4 separate regions of the Homo sapiens genome follow, and regions 1, 2 and 3 are each linked to region 4. The links are contacts of gene promoters, found by promoter capture Hi-C in blood cells and fetal thymus (Javierre and others, 2016). All regions are on one chromosome and are shown on one strand. The core of a region is centred on a gene start or on the middle of the fragment in contact, and the rest is flanking DNA. Distances in the headings are between cores, read along the strand shown. Region 1 has its middle 47 kb from the start of GORASP2. Region 2 has its middle 37 kb from the start of BBS5. Region 3 has its middle 44 kb from the start of GAD1-AS1. Region 4 holds the start of MYO3B-AS1 (MYO3B antisense RNA 1).

Evidence for each region. Contacts are between HindIII fragments. The CHiCAGO score rates a contact against its expected background, and 5 or more counts as called.
Region 1: a fragment that was not itself captured here is called in contact with the fragment with the promoter of MYO3B-AS1 in region 4 in 5 of 17 cell types (M2 macrophages, naive CD4 T cells, M0 macrophages and 2 more); the score reaches 8.8 in M2 macrophages.
Region 2: a fragment that was not itself captured here is called in contact with the fragment with the promoter of MYO3B-AS1 in region 4 in 1 of 17 cell types (endothelial precursors); the score reaches 7.2 in endothelial precursors.
Region 3: a fragment that was not itself captured here is called in contact with the fragment with the promoter of MYO3B-AS1 in region 4 in 14 of 17 cell types (M1 macrophages, M2 macrophages, fetal thymus and 11 more); the score reaches 13.2 in M1 macrophages.

What each region holds. Positions count from the first base shown.
Region 1 is chr2:170,880,237-170,883,457 of GRCh38, forward strand. No RefSeq gene overlaps it. Among named protein-coding and RNA genes, the nearest start is that of GORASP2, 47 kb to the right of the region's middle. The HindIII fragment of the contact is 3,068 bases long and covers 1-3,057 here.
Region 2 is chr2:169,440,772-169,444,018 of GRCh38, forward strand. No RefSeq gene overlaps it. Among named protein-coding and RNA genes, the nearest start is that of BBS5, 37 kb to the right of the region's middle. The HindIII fragment of the contact is 332 bases long and covers 1,589-1,920 here.
Region 3 is chr2:170,861,326-170,864,717 of GRCh38, forward strand. No RefSeq gene overlaps it. Among named protein-coding and RNA genes, the nearest start is that of GAD1-AS1, 44 kb to the left of the region's middle. The HindIII fragment of the contact is 6,602 bases long and covers 1-3,392 here.
Region 4 is chr2:170,349,263-170,352,669 of GRCh38, forward strand. It overlaps MYO3B-AS1 (MYO3B antisense RNA 1), which reads right to left and starts at 1,681. Exons shown (of 4, transcript NR_110576.1): 1 at 1,617-1,681. All of the region lies in intron 8 of MYO3B (myosin IIIB), which reads left to right. The HindIII fragment of the contact is 2,320 bases long and covers 1,154-3,407 here.

The DNA of each region.
Region 1 (3,221 bases), core at 274-2,773, 530 kb after region 4:
CCCATGGTGGAAATACACACTTCATTCACTTCCTTCCCCTCCTGGTCTCACTTTCCCTCTGCCCCATTAGTGCTTCCTGGGCTCAGCTCCTACATGAGCTACTTTTGATCAAACTGTAGTCTGTGGGTTTGATACTGGATGATCCTAAAGTTGGACAATAACAAAAAATCTGCAAACTAAAACTGGGATCCGAGAGTTTTCTTAGCTCAGCATGGAAAAAAATCCTAATATTCTTAATTAACGTTTGTTAATGTCTTTGATAACCCCTTGCCCTGGAAAACAATACTATATCAAAGTCTCTTGTTTCTTTCATGGCTTTCATCATTAAATTGGAAAAGCTGGAAAACAACAAATGTTTGTATTTTTGGAGTTCAATTTTACTTTGCTCCCTGCTAGCACCTTAAAACAGATGGTATCCATTCAGATGGAAATGAGGTATAAAAGTGATTTTTATTAAAATTAACATTCAATTTAGATTTTGCTTTATTATGCATACCACAAATAACTGTGTGAGTTCCCTGTAAAGAGGTTGTATATATGACATAATTTATAGTTATTCATGCTCTATCAATTACATTGAAATGATGACTGGAGTTACCACAGTACCTCAATAATCATTACTATGTAATTTGCAGTTTTCTGGATTAGGGAACTCTTTAGAAGCTGCACGTAACTAGCCAATTGTTTTTAGAGAGTACAGTAATGACTGTTATTACTGAGGAGTTGAATGAAGCTCCTTTTTATGCCCTGAAGATTACTTGATGATATCATTTTTTTTAAAAAAAAGTAACCAACAGATAAACAGACAGCAAACCAAGTATATAATGGTCCAATAATGTGGGCCAACACTGTTGGCTGTGAAAATTACCACAATCTTCCATTGATTTTTATTTCTCTAGTGGGAACACCTGCCTATGCAAGCATACTTAATTAGATGGATTGCCTTGGCCCGTGAATGGTATTAGAACAGGTGAAAATAAAGGGAAGATTTCTGAGATTTTGTTTAGTATATAAAAGTGCAATAGGCTGCAAACACGACTCAAACTAAGTCAGGCTCACCTTATTCAAAACAAATCTAACTCTATCCTCTCTTCCAGACTTCTTGAATATAGTGCCCAAACCCACTTCCACTTCCCTTCAGTAACCTGACCCTGAACTAGAATTTATTACTACAGCTCGCTTCTCAGAAAATCTTTATTTTCTATAGATAGAGCCCATTAAAATCTTTCTTACATTTAAGTACTTGAAAGCAATATTTCCCCTCTTTATTTTTCCCTTTTAAGCTAAGCCATAGTAAACTGTCTTCAGACATTTTTTGGTGCACAAAAATATTTTTTTCCTCCAGAACAGACCCCAAGCTGAAGTGTTAGGCATTCGCCATTTGCTTTCCATCCCAGTAACCTCCTTTCTTTTTCCCCACGTCCCTCTTCCTACAGTCACCTTTAGATGTGCAGTCCATGTCTGAGCAAAGCCTGCTTTTATGACAGTGCCTCATGCCCGCCCATGTGTTACCTTTCCCAGTGATCCCTGCTCTGTAAAATTACCACTAGGCAGTGAATAAGATTTTCATCCCATCTTAAAGCACCTCAGCCAGTGGGTGGGGGAAGGCATTTGGGGAGGGCCAAGTAGCTTCTGAAATCTGTGTCCCAGGCTGTACCTTGTCAAGTTATCTTCCTTAACTATGGGTATGGCTGGTGAAACTGCCCATCATCTAGATTTCCCTGCTAGAAAAACGGACGTCCCTGTCTGAAAACAACCACAATGACAGCAATGGGACTTAGTCTTTGATGCCCTCATTTTCTGCAGCAGTGACTCCAAAATAAAAGCTCCTGCCTTTCACTGGTAAGTTCCCCTAGAAACCACTGTAATATGTTTATTAAGATCTTTGTGTAAGCTCTGTCTCACTACTAGTATTGGGCTCCAGTTTCTAATTTTAGTAAGATTTACACTAGCCAGCTCAGCGAAATAGCCCTCTTATATTTTTGTTCAATGGATCAACTCCAGCTGTTTTATAACTAAACCATTTTATTTAGTAGTCTCCAAAAGCACCCCATAAAATGCTTCATGAGTGCTTTCTTGGGCCCATTTTAATGAGCAAGACCTACTACATTTTGGAAATTCCCATACTCAGAATCTCTTTTACTTCTAGAAAACTCCAACTGATGGCAATACAACCTACAGAAAATCTATCACCAGCCGGGTATGGTGGCTCACACCTGTAATCTCAGCACTTTGGGGGCTCAAAGTGGGAGGATTGCTTGAAGCCAAGAGTTCAAGATCAGCCTGGGCAACACAGTGAGACCCCATTTCTACAAAAAAGAAATTAGCTGGGTGTGGTGGTATGCGCCGAGTAGCTGAGTCCCAGCTACTTGAGAAGCTGAGGCAGGAAGATTGCTTGAGCCCAGGAGGTTGAGGCTACAGTGGACCATGATTGTTCCACTGCACTCCAGATGACAGAGCAAGACCCTGTCAAAGAAAGGAAGAAAGAAAAGAAAAGAAAGAGAAGAAAGGAAAGAAAGAAGGAACGGAGGAAGGAAGGAAAGAAGGAAGGAAGGAAAGGGAAGGGAAGGGGAAGGAAAGGGAAGGGAAGGGGAAGGGGAAGGAAAGGGAAGGGAAAGGGAAGGGAAGGGGAAGGGAAGGGAAGGGAAGGGGAAGGGAAGGGAAGGGGAAGGGAGGTGAAGGGAGGGGAGGGGAAGGAGGAAGGGAGAAAGGGAGCAAGGAAGGAAGGAAGGAAGGAAGAAGAGAAAGAGAAAAGGAAAGAAAGAAAATCTGTTGCCTATGTGGGATGAAATGACAAAGTGACAAGACTGACAGAAAGGCTGAAGTAGACACATTTGGGTGCTGCTCAGTTCTCCCTCCTCAGGAAACTTCCCTCCTTACCCAGTTCCACAGAGGAGGGCCATCGGCAGCTATGTTTATACTACACATCTCCACTGCCCTGGCCACAGCCAACTGGACCTGAGGGGACCATCTAATCAAAGTTGGGCCAATCCAATTCTTTGTCCCAGGAATTTGGAATTGGGACTGAGAACTCAGTTGGCCTGTATATGTTTTGCAAGCTTAGGAGCAAGGGATGGGGGTGAGGGCTGGATGTCACATGCTGCCAGGTGGGCAGGAGAAGCAAGAAAGCCAATCTGAAGAGAAAGGAGAATGAAGGCAACAGATAGAGAGCACAAGAGATCAACAGTGCAGCACTGGTTTTTTGGTTTTTTTTTTTTTTT
Region 2 (3,247 bases), core at 505-3,004, 910 kb before region 4:
TTTCTTAGTCTTAACATTTTAATTGATGACTTGATTGAAGCTATATTTTTAAAAAACGAGATTGCCAGTTATTGCAATTGCACACATACTGAGACAATGTGCTTATGGATAGATAAAAATACAATGAATAAAAGGGACATAGGTCAATACCAATAAAACAAAATTTAATATCACTAAATGTATATTCAAAAATGCACAAAGAATAGGAGGGCTCCCAGCTTGAAATAGCTTACTTTTTAAAAGCTATGACAGTCACCAATACCATCAGCCCCCTGAGCCATCCAGCTATAAAACCTAGATACAGTGCATGGAGCATCTATTTAGGAACACTGCAAAATAAATGATAGCAAGAAGATTTGGAAAGGACACCAGAATTCAAAGCACCACCAAGCCAGTACTGAGTTTTCCCTTTTTTTCCCTCCTGGCCAGGACTCAGGGAAGTCTGAAACTCTGAAGTGGGCACCCAGATGTAGACAGAGAGTGCTTCAAGAAAAGCCCTCTAGTTTTGGGTCCAGGAGTGGGAAAGGAGAATTCTAACACTCATCGAGATGGGGGCAATTCATCATTTTCCTTTGTTCATTTTTCTGTCATGCCCCAGAAGCCAGACGATCCCATGACAACAGTTGCAGCAAAGACAGTGGTGGCAGCAGAGGCTGCAGGTCCCTAAAACTCTGAAGTACAGAATGTTCCTCTCTGATCAGAGGAGCTGTGGTCCCCCAAAGTGGGGCAAATCCCTGTTGGTTTTTTCTCTCTCTAGCCTCCTACTATTTGACTCTGAATACACACAGACTGGGCTAACTTAAAACTCAGTTTTTTGGGCTGGAGAACTAAAAAGATGAAGGAAACTGAAAATTCTGAGGAGAACGTAGAGAGGGAGGAGCTAGGAAGTGTGACCCAATAAAGTCGTTTCTAGGCTCTGGAGCTTATTCCTGAGTGGTGTGTGCATGAATCTGACCCTTAACAGCATATCATAGACTTTGAGAACTGAAAGGTGGGACAGACTGCAGCCCAGCTCCCAGACTGTACATTGGGTGGCACATACAAGGGACAGAAACAAGGAGCATTGCATAGGCTTTAAAAACTGAACTAACGTTGGAACCACACCCAGAGCGGATTGATCAGAAATCACAGCCTGTACGTAACTGTTTATGTTCTCAAAGGTTATGGGGCCAGGCTCTGTGGCTCATGCCTGTAATCCCAGCACTTTGGGAGGCCGAGGCCGGCGAATCATGAGGTCAAGAGATCGAGACCATCCTGGCCAACAAGGTGAAACCCCGTCTCTATTAAAAATACAAAAATTAGCTGGGCATGGTGGTGCATGCCTATAATCTCAGCTACTCGGGTGGCTGAGGCAGGAGAATCGCTTGACCCCAGGAGGCAGAGGTTGCAGTGAGCTGAGATCACGCCACTGCACTCTAGTCTGGCGACAGAGCAAGACTCCATCTCAAAAAAAAAAAAAAAAAAAAGGTTATGGTATGCTGTTGATTCTATTGATTCTTGGGGGATGAAGATTGAAGCTCCCAGTTTTAACTGTAAATTTGTCTATTGCTTTTTCAGGTTTCGTAAGTTTTTGCTTTATGTATTTTCAAGCTTTGTTGTTAGGTGTGTACACATTCAGAATTGTTATGTGTTCTTGGTGAATGGACCCCTTTTTCTTTATGTAATGCCCTCCCTCTCTGTCAGAATGCATGTAGGGCAACATAGTGAGACCTTCTCTCTTAATCAATAAATAAATTTTTAAAAAATACATGGGTGGAAAAAATGATAGCCTTAATTAAAAAAAAAAAACTTTAAAGCTAGAGTGACTATTTAATAGCAGAGAAGAATTCAGAGCAAAGACAATTACCAGGGATAAAAAGGGACATTGTCCATTAACCAAGAATATATAACCATCCTAAGTGATAATATACCTAGCAACAAAGCTTTAAAATACATGAAGCAAAAACTAACAAAACTGGAAGGAAAAATGGACAAACCCACAATTATAGTTGAAAATTTCAACTCTCCTCTTTCAGTAATCGTTAGAACAAGTAGACAGAAAATCAGCAAGGACACAGAACTGAACAATGCTATTAAAGAACTGTATCTAATCAACATTAATAGAATATTTTACCCCATAACAACATGATAGTCTTTATATAGGCACACAGAATATTCATCAAGATAGAGCATATACTAGGTCATAAAATAAACCTTATCAAAAGTAAAAGAGTTGAAATCACACAAAGTTCTTTGGCCATAAGAAAATTAAACTAAAAATCAATAATACCAAAAAAAGTTTTAAACACTTTTAAATTAAACAGTAGATCTTTAAACAACCCACAGATCAAAGAGGAAGCCTCAGGAGAAATTAGAAAATACTTTGAATTAAATGAAACATAAAATAAAATGTAAAAATTTGTGGTGTACAGGTAAAGCAGTGTTTAAAGGTGAAATTATACCCATTATGTGCTCATATTAAGAAGAAGAATGATCTCAGATCCACTAGCTAAGATTCTATTTTTAAAAACTAGAAAAAGAAGAGCAACATATGTTCAAAGCATGCAAAAGGAAGAAAATAATAAAGGTAAAAGCAGAAATCAATGAAATTAAAACTAACCAAACCAAAAAAGGGCAACTGGAAGAAAGAAGACTAGACAAAATAAAACCAAAAGCTAGTACTTTGAAAAGATCAATAAAATTTAAAATTCTCTATCAAGATCAACAAAGAAAAAAGGAGAAAAGACACACATTATCAATATCAGGAAAGAAAGATGGGATCACTATAGACCCCACAGATGTTTAAGGTATAAGGGAATGCTACCATTCTAAGCACATAAATGGAACAACAAAGATGAAATGAACCAGTTCCTTAAAACCTCAAAATACCAAAATGCAACCAAGATGAAATAGACAATCTGAATTTTTCTGTAACTATTAAAGAAATGGAACATGTCGTTGAAAACCTTCTAAAAAGAAACTTCTAGCTCACGCCTGTAATCCCAGCACTTTGGGAGGCCAAGGTGGGCAGATCACGAGGTCAGGAGATCAAGACCATCCTGGCTAACACGGTGAAACCCCGTCTCTATTAAAAATACAAAAAATTAGCCGGGCATGGTGGTGAGTGCCTGTAGTCCTAGCTACTCAGGAGGCTGAGGCAGGAGAATGGCGTGAACCCGGGAGGCGGAGCCTGCAGTGAGCCAAGATCGGGCCATTGCACTCCAGCCTGGGTGACAGAGCGAGACTCCGTCTCAAAAAAAGAAAAAAG
Region 3 (3,392 bases), core at 754-3,253, 510 kb after region 4:
TATGGGCTGGGCATGGTGGTGCATGCCTGTAATCCTAGCACTTTGGGAGGCTGAGGCAGGCAGATCACTTGAGCTCAGGAGTTCGAGACCCATCTGTGCAACAGGGCGAAACCCTGTCTCTGCAAGAAATGTAAAAATTAGCCAGCTGTGGTGATGCGCACCTGTGGTCCCAACTATTTGGGAACCTGAGGTGCAAGGATCACCTGAGCCCAGGAGATCAAGGCTGCAGTGAGCTGAAATCGTGCCACTGCACTCCAGCCTGGGTGACAGAGTGAGACCCTGTCTCAATCAATCAATAAAATCATTATGATTATAATTAATTAAATGTGCAGTTCAAGCCTTGAGAAAGAAAAGCCATCCCTGTTTCTCCTTTTCCTACTTGCATCTTGGAGTTACATTCATTCAGTCATTCAACAAAAGATAAGTATTCCTTCTAGTGGGCATCTTACATCACTTGGTATCTCTGCTAACTGAGTGCCTCTAAGATCACAGAAGCATAACTTCCTGCTGCTTTATGCTTGTAGAGTGGTCCCCATTCACTTCCTAGGGAAATATATGTTGGTGCTGGATCATTAGGATATGGGACTGATTTTCTACAATATTCTTTGTGTGTGTGTGTGTGTGTGTGTATGTGTGTGTGTGTGTGTGAGAGAGAGAGAGAGAGAGAGAAAGAGTCTCAACTCTGTCACCAGGCTGGAGTGCAGTGGCGCCATCTCAGCTCACTGCAACCTCTGTCTCCCCGGTTCAAGCGATTCTCCTGCCTCAGTCTTCTGAGTAGCTGGGATTACAGGCGTGCACCACCACACCCAGCTAGTTTTTGTATTTTAGTAGAGCCACGGTTTCCCCATGTTGGCCAGGATGGTCTCAATCTCTTGACCTCGAGATCTGCCCACCTCGGCCTCCCAAAGTGCTGGGATTACAGGCGTGAGCCACTGCGCCCAGCCCATTTTCTACAATATTTTATTCAGCTATATTAATACAATCTCACTCATTTGGAATACAAGAAGCTCCCTATTTAGCACAGGTAGGGAATACAGAAGAGTCCTTTGTAATTAGCACACTGATTGCATGTAACCATTGTATTAAACGACTCTATAGGGAGTGATCATAAAGCCACTTATTCTTTCTCTCACTGTTTCTATAAAACGCCCCTGGGGGCTGATTTTTTCCATGCCCCCATTTGAATTTAGGCCAATCCCATAGCTTTTCTGTCCTCTCGGGTGCATGAACAGTCTCATTTTTGCAACTGAGGGTCCAGGTTGATGTAATAAGCAAAGTTTCAATTTTTATATGATATAGAGTTTCTCCCCCCTCCCCCCGATCTGGCACTGCTTCAGCTGCAAGCCTACAGTGGCAGGGAGAGCAAGGCTGACGGTGGGTGAGGTCACCTTTTTTCTTCATCTTTCAGCTCATCTCCCTAGCTCCTGTGCTTCCTCATTCAGGGTCAGGCCTAGCGGGAGGAAGGGATAACGTGACAAAGGTAAAATTTTACATGGCTATTAAATTGTCATTGGGCATCAAGTTCCCTGGAACATGAGTTTTTGTTTTTTGGGGGGGTTTTTTGTTTTTTTTTTTGAGAAATTTTCTGGAGTGAATGAGGATTTTTGGAATTAAGGTAAAATTTAGATACAATGAAACTTTTTGTAGTGTACTGTGTATAGTTTTCTGTGGATTTTGACAAACCCATTCAGTCATGTATTAATAACTATCATCATGATCAAGGTCTACAACAGGTCTGTCACCCCAACGAATTTCCCATCCCCCTTTGTACTGAACACCTCTCCTACTCAGCTCTTGGCAACCTCTGCTTTGTTTTCTGTCCCTAGACTTTTGCCTTTCCCACCATGTAAATGGAATCATATAAGATTTAGTCTTTTTTTAGTCTGGTTTCTTTTGCTTAACGTAGTGCACTTGAAATCCATCCATGTTATCTCTATATCAGTGTTCATTCCTTTTCACTACCGCATAGTATTCCATTTGCATAAATGTACCATACTCTGCTTATCCATCCCTTAGTAGAGGGGAATTTCTGTTGTTTCCAGTTTTTTTGGCGATTAGAATAAAGCTACTGGAAACAATAGTGTGCAGATTTTTCTGTGAACATAGATTTCATTTAACTTGGGTAAATACCTACGTGTAGGATTGCAAGATAACATTAATAATATGTTTAATTTTATCAGAAACTGCTAAACTATTTTCCAAAGTGGCTGTACCATTTTGCATTCTCACCAGCAATGCACAAATATTCCAGTTGCTCCATATTCTTGCTGACACTTGGTACTGTCATTTTCCCCCCATGCTGGCCATTCTAAAAGTGTTATCTTGTGGTTCTAATTTGCTTTTTCGTGAAGCACTTTTGAAGGATCCCTCTGGGGTCCTCCCAGCTCATTGCACAGGAGGCAGTAAAGGTTTATCCTCCTGCAACCACTTAGGACTCAGACCCTCAGGCCTGGGCCCCTGGCAGTCTACACTGTCCAGACCTTGTAGTTGGGATCCTTTCTTCTCCAAGTAGTACATTTGGCCAGGATGCCTTTTATTTAACATCAGTTACTGGCCAGGTGCAGTGGCTCACGTCTGTGATCCCAGCACTTTGGAAGGCCAAACTGGAAGGACTGCCTTGAGCCCAGGAGTTCAAGGCCAGCCTGGGTACATTGGGAGATCCCATCTCTACAAAAAATAAAAAAATAGCTGGGAGTGTGGTGGTGAGCCCCTGTGATGCCAGCTACTCAGAAGGCTGAGGTGGGAAGATCACTGGAGCCCAAGAGGTCAAGGCTGCAGTGAGCCATGATCATGCCACTGCATTCCAGCCTGAGCAACAGAGTGAGACACCATCTCAAAAAAAAAAAAACAGAAACAAAAACAAAACCCTCCTTAGATAATCTACAATAACTGATTTTTTTTTTTTTTTTTTTTTTGAGACAGGATCCCGCTTTGTCACCCAGGCTAGAGTATTGTGGCATGATCACAGCTCACTGCAACCTCGAACTCCTGGGCTTAAGCAATCCTCCCACCTCAGCCTCCCAAGTAACTGGGACTGCAGGTGCATGCCATCATGCCCAGCTAATTTTTTATTTTTTTGTAGAGATGGAGTCTCATTCTGTTGCCCAGACTAGTCTCAAACTCCTGAACTCAACTGATCCTTTCACCTCGGCCTCCCAAACTGCTAGAATTACAGGCATAAGCCACTGTGCCTGACCAAGAAGGGCTTTATTAGACATACATGTATAGGACAAAGGGTGATGACATTATACTTGAGTACCCATTACTTAGCCTAAGATATAGAACATTATTATTATCATGACCTTAGCACTCTCCAACCCCGTCACGAACCTTCCCTGATTGGATGCTCCCCACTCTCTAAGAAGTGATCACTATTCTGAATTTTGTGTTAC
Region 4 (3,407 bases), core at 431-2,930:
TGCCTTTTACAGAACTTTATAATAATGGGGAGAGAGGGAGCATGTCAAGCCATCCTGGAATTATTTGTTTCTACGTCTGTCTCCCCACTCAAACTGTAAATTCCTTGAGAGCAGAGAATGTATCTTTACTGCTTCATATCCCCAATACCTAGCACAGTTCCTAGAACATGGCAGGAACTCAGTAAATATCCATTCCTTTTGAAGAACCACGAATTCTTTAGAGGAAGTGATACTCTTAAAATTATGCACCTCATGGCCGGGTGTGGTGGCTCATGCCTATAATCTCAGCACTTTGGGAGGCCGAGGTGGGTGGATCACTTGAGGTCAGGAGTTTGAGACCAGCCTGGCCAACATGGTGAAACCCTGTCTTTACTAAAAATGCAAAAATTAGCCGGGCATGGTAGTGGGCACCTGTAATCCCAGCTACTTGGGAGGCTGAGGCAGGAGATCACTGGAATCTGGGAGGTGGATGTTGCAGTGAGCTGAGATTGCACCACTGCACTCCAGCCTGAGCGATGGAATGAGACCCTGTCTCAAAAAAAAAAAAAAAAGAAAGAAAGAAAAAAATTATGCACCTCATATAATGGACCTAGATAGAAGTTGGATGTTAGAACTCATGATCTTTGGACAGTCTCTCCAAACGACAAACATAATGATAAGGAAGAGAATAAGGGGTGGCAAAAGTGGTCAGATACACCTTCCTCTCTCAATATACACACAGTATCCCAGAACACAACTGAACATTTTTTTTTCCTTTGAGATAGTGTCTTGCTCTGTTGCCCAGGCTGGATTGCAGTGGCGCGATCTCGGCTCATTGCAATCTCAACCTCCCAGGGTGAAGCAATCCTCTTCCCTCAGCCTCCCAAGTAGCTGGGATTACAGGCACGTGCACACCCAGCTAATTTTCTGTATGTTTAGTAGAGACTGGGTTTTGCCATGTTGCCCAGGCTGATCTCCAACTTGTGGGCTCAAGTGATCTGCCCGCCTCGACCTCCCAAAAACCGAAATTTTAACTGTAAGAAGAAACATGATAGGATTGTTAAATTGATAGCTACGTGGTTAGCTGTGGATTCTTTTTTGATTGCCTTAAATACATGAAAAGAATGTCAGAATGAATCCTTCATGGCAATCTCAGTGGTTATTCCTCTCCAAAAGCTTCTGCCCATTCCTTTTCATCTCTGCCTTCCCTTATTTCTCACCACCAGCTCCTTTATCACGTGGTTTAGAATTCCACAGAAAGATTGAAGAGAAGCCACTTCTGAACTCTGGATTATAAGAAACATCACCATTTGAAGGCTGCCTTAGGGAACTATGCAGAGATGATGGGTAAAAATCGAGATGTGGAAAAGTTCAAGGCCTGTGAATGCAACTTTACTTCCTCACTGTAAAATAAAATTAGGTTAAAATCAAGGTGTTGGCAGGGGGAAAAAAGATTAGGGGCACGTCTCACAGATGTTAATTTTGGCCACGTACCTTAATGTCTTAATACATTAATATGATACATACATTAATAGCTTAATAGCTTCACACTAATAGATCTTACTAAAGAAAAATGATTTAGGATGGTAGTAAGCAGAAGAAATGATTGGATAAATTTGAATTTGAAGGATTTTTGCCTTTAGATGTTTCCGTGGAAGATATTTTCTGTAAAGGTGATGCCTTAGGTTTATACTTTTCCAAACACAGGATATTGCTAGGCCACATATATAAAGAAAAGGCCAAAAACATATTAAGAAGGAAGGAAGGGAGAAAAGAAAAAAGGGAGGAAGGAAGAAGGAAGGCAGGAAGGAAGGGAAGGCAGGGAGGGAGGAAGGCAGGAAGGAAGGAAGTTAGTTATATTCAGAATGTTCATTGTGATGGATGAGAATGGAATGCTCATGAAGTGCTCAGCTGGGCTGAAGTCACAGGTCCGCAGGTATCAAGAGCAGTGGTGACTCCTGTGAGTAAAAAGACTAACAGGGCTCCAAACAAGATAGGATTCAGAGTTGAGACTCCTACTTGAAGCCAGTAAATGAGGTGGTTCATTTAGGCTGATAAAAAGCGTCTGGGAAAAAGAATGGGGTAGGGGAGAGGTTATGTGATCCTGTGCTCTAACTGTAGCAATTTCTTCCACATATTCTCCATCGTCTGGGGTGATGCTGACCATCACCCAGGACTATGACTTTTAGCCACCTTCTGGCTGAGGATGGTAGAAGGATATATAAGCAGCCAGGCCTGTGGCTGCCACAGTCATAGGCTCTTCCATATGCCCAATAAGACCATGGGACAGCAGCACAAAATGCCATTCTACAACCTGGCTCTGGGCTAGAGACCCAGAGAGCCAAGCAGACATAACCATAACATTACTAGAATAGGAGGGTGGGCAAAGGGGAAGTGAGAGGGAGAGAGAAAACAAAATCCTCTTCCTCCTCACCCTTTCAGTGAGCCTGCCAACTGAAATTTCAGAACACCTGAATAAACCTAAAGCTGAGGAAGACAACCCACCAAAACAACAAATGAAGCATAAATTCGTTTGAAATGAAACTAAATTCATGGAATAGTCTGAAGGATTAATGTAGATAACTACTAACTGTAAGAAGGAAAACAATTTGGGATAAAATACGTAAAAACTAACTCTAATCATACAGTTGGGGCAGGGACAGCATCCAGTGTGTGATTTAGGCATGCACAAGTTGTTTTTCTTTGTTTGGTTTTTTGTTGTTGTTTTTGAGATGGAGTCTCGCTCCGTCGCCCAGGCTAGAGTGCAGTGGCATGATCTCGGCTCACTGCAACCTCCGCCTCCCAGGTTCAAGCGATCCTCTTGCCTCAGCCTCCTGAGTAGCTGGGGTTGCAGGTGCATGCCACAACACCTGGCTGATTTTTGTATTTTTAGTAGAGACGGGGTTTCACCGTGTTGGCCAGACTGGTCTCGAACTCCTGACCTCAGGTGACCCGCCCTCCTTGGTCTCCCAAAATGCTGAGATTACAGGTGTGAGCCACCGTGCCCGGCCTAGGCACGCATAGGTTTTTGTACTCAGAAAGGGGATAGAACTACAGGAAAATTGACAGTTAAGCAAACATGTTAAACTAATTTGTAGTTAAGCAAATATGTTAAAACTATAGAAAAACAATGTCTAGTTTCTAAACCAAAAGAAGAAAGGGTCTACAGAAAATTTAATCAATCTAACAGAAGACAGGAAATGAGGAAAAAAAGCATTGGAGGAAAAGGTTGGTAAAAAGAGATTTCTATCTATATGACCATGCTTTTGAATTATCAGGCAGTCAGTTTTTCCCAAGATTTCCAGTACATAAGCAGTGGTGTACTGGTAAATGTTTAAACTGGCTGGTTGCGGATAGGGGTGGGAGTGGGGCTGATTTTCAGTGTTTACTCGTTTTCATGGTGTAAATATTCCCACCATAGCCAATTT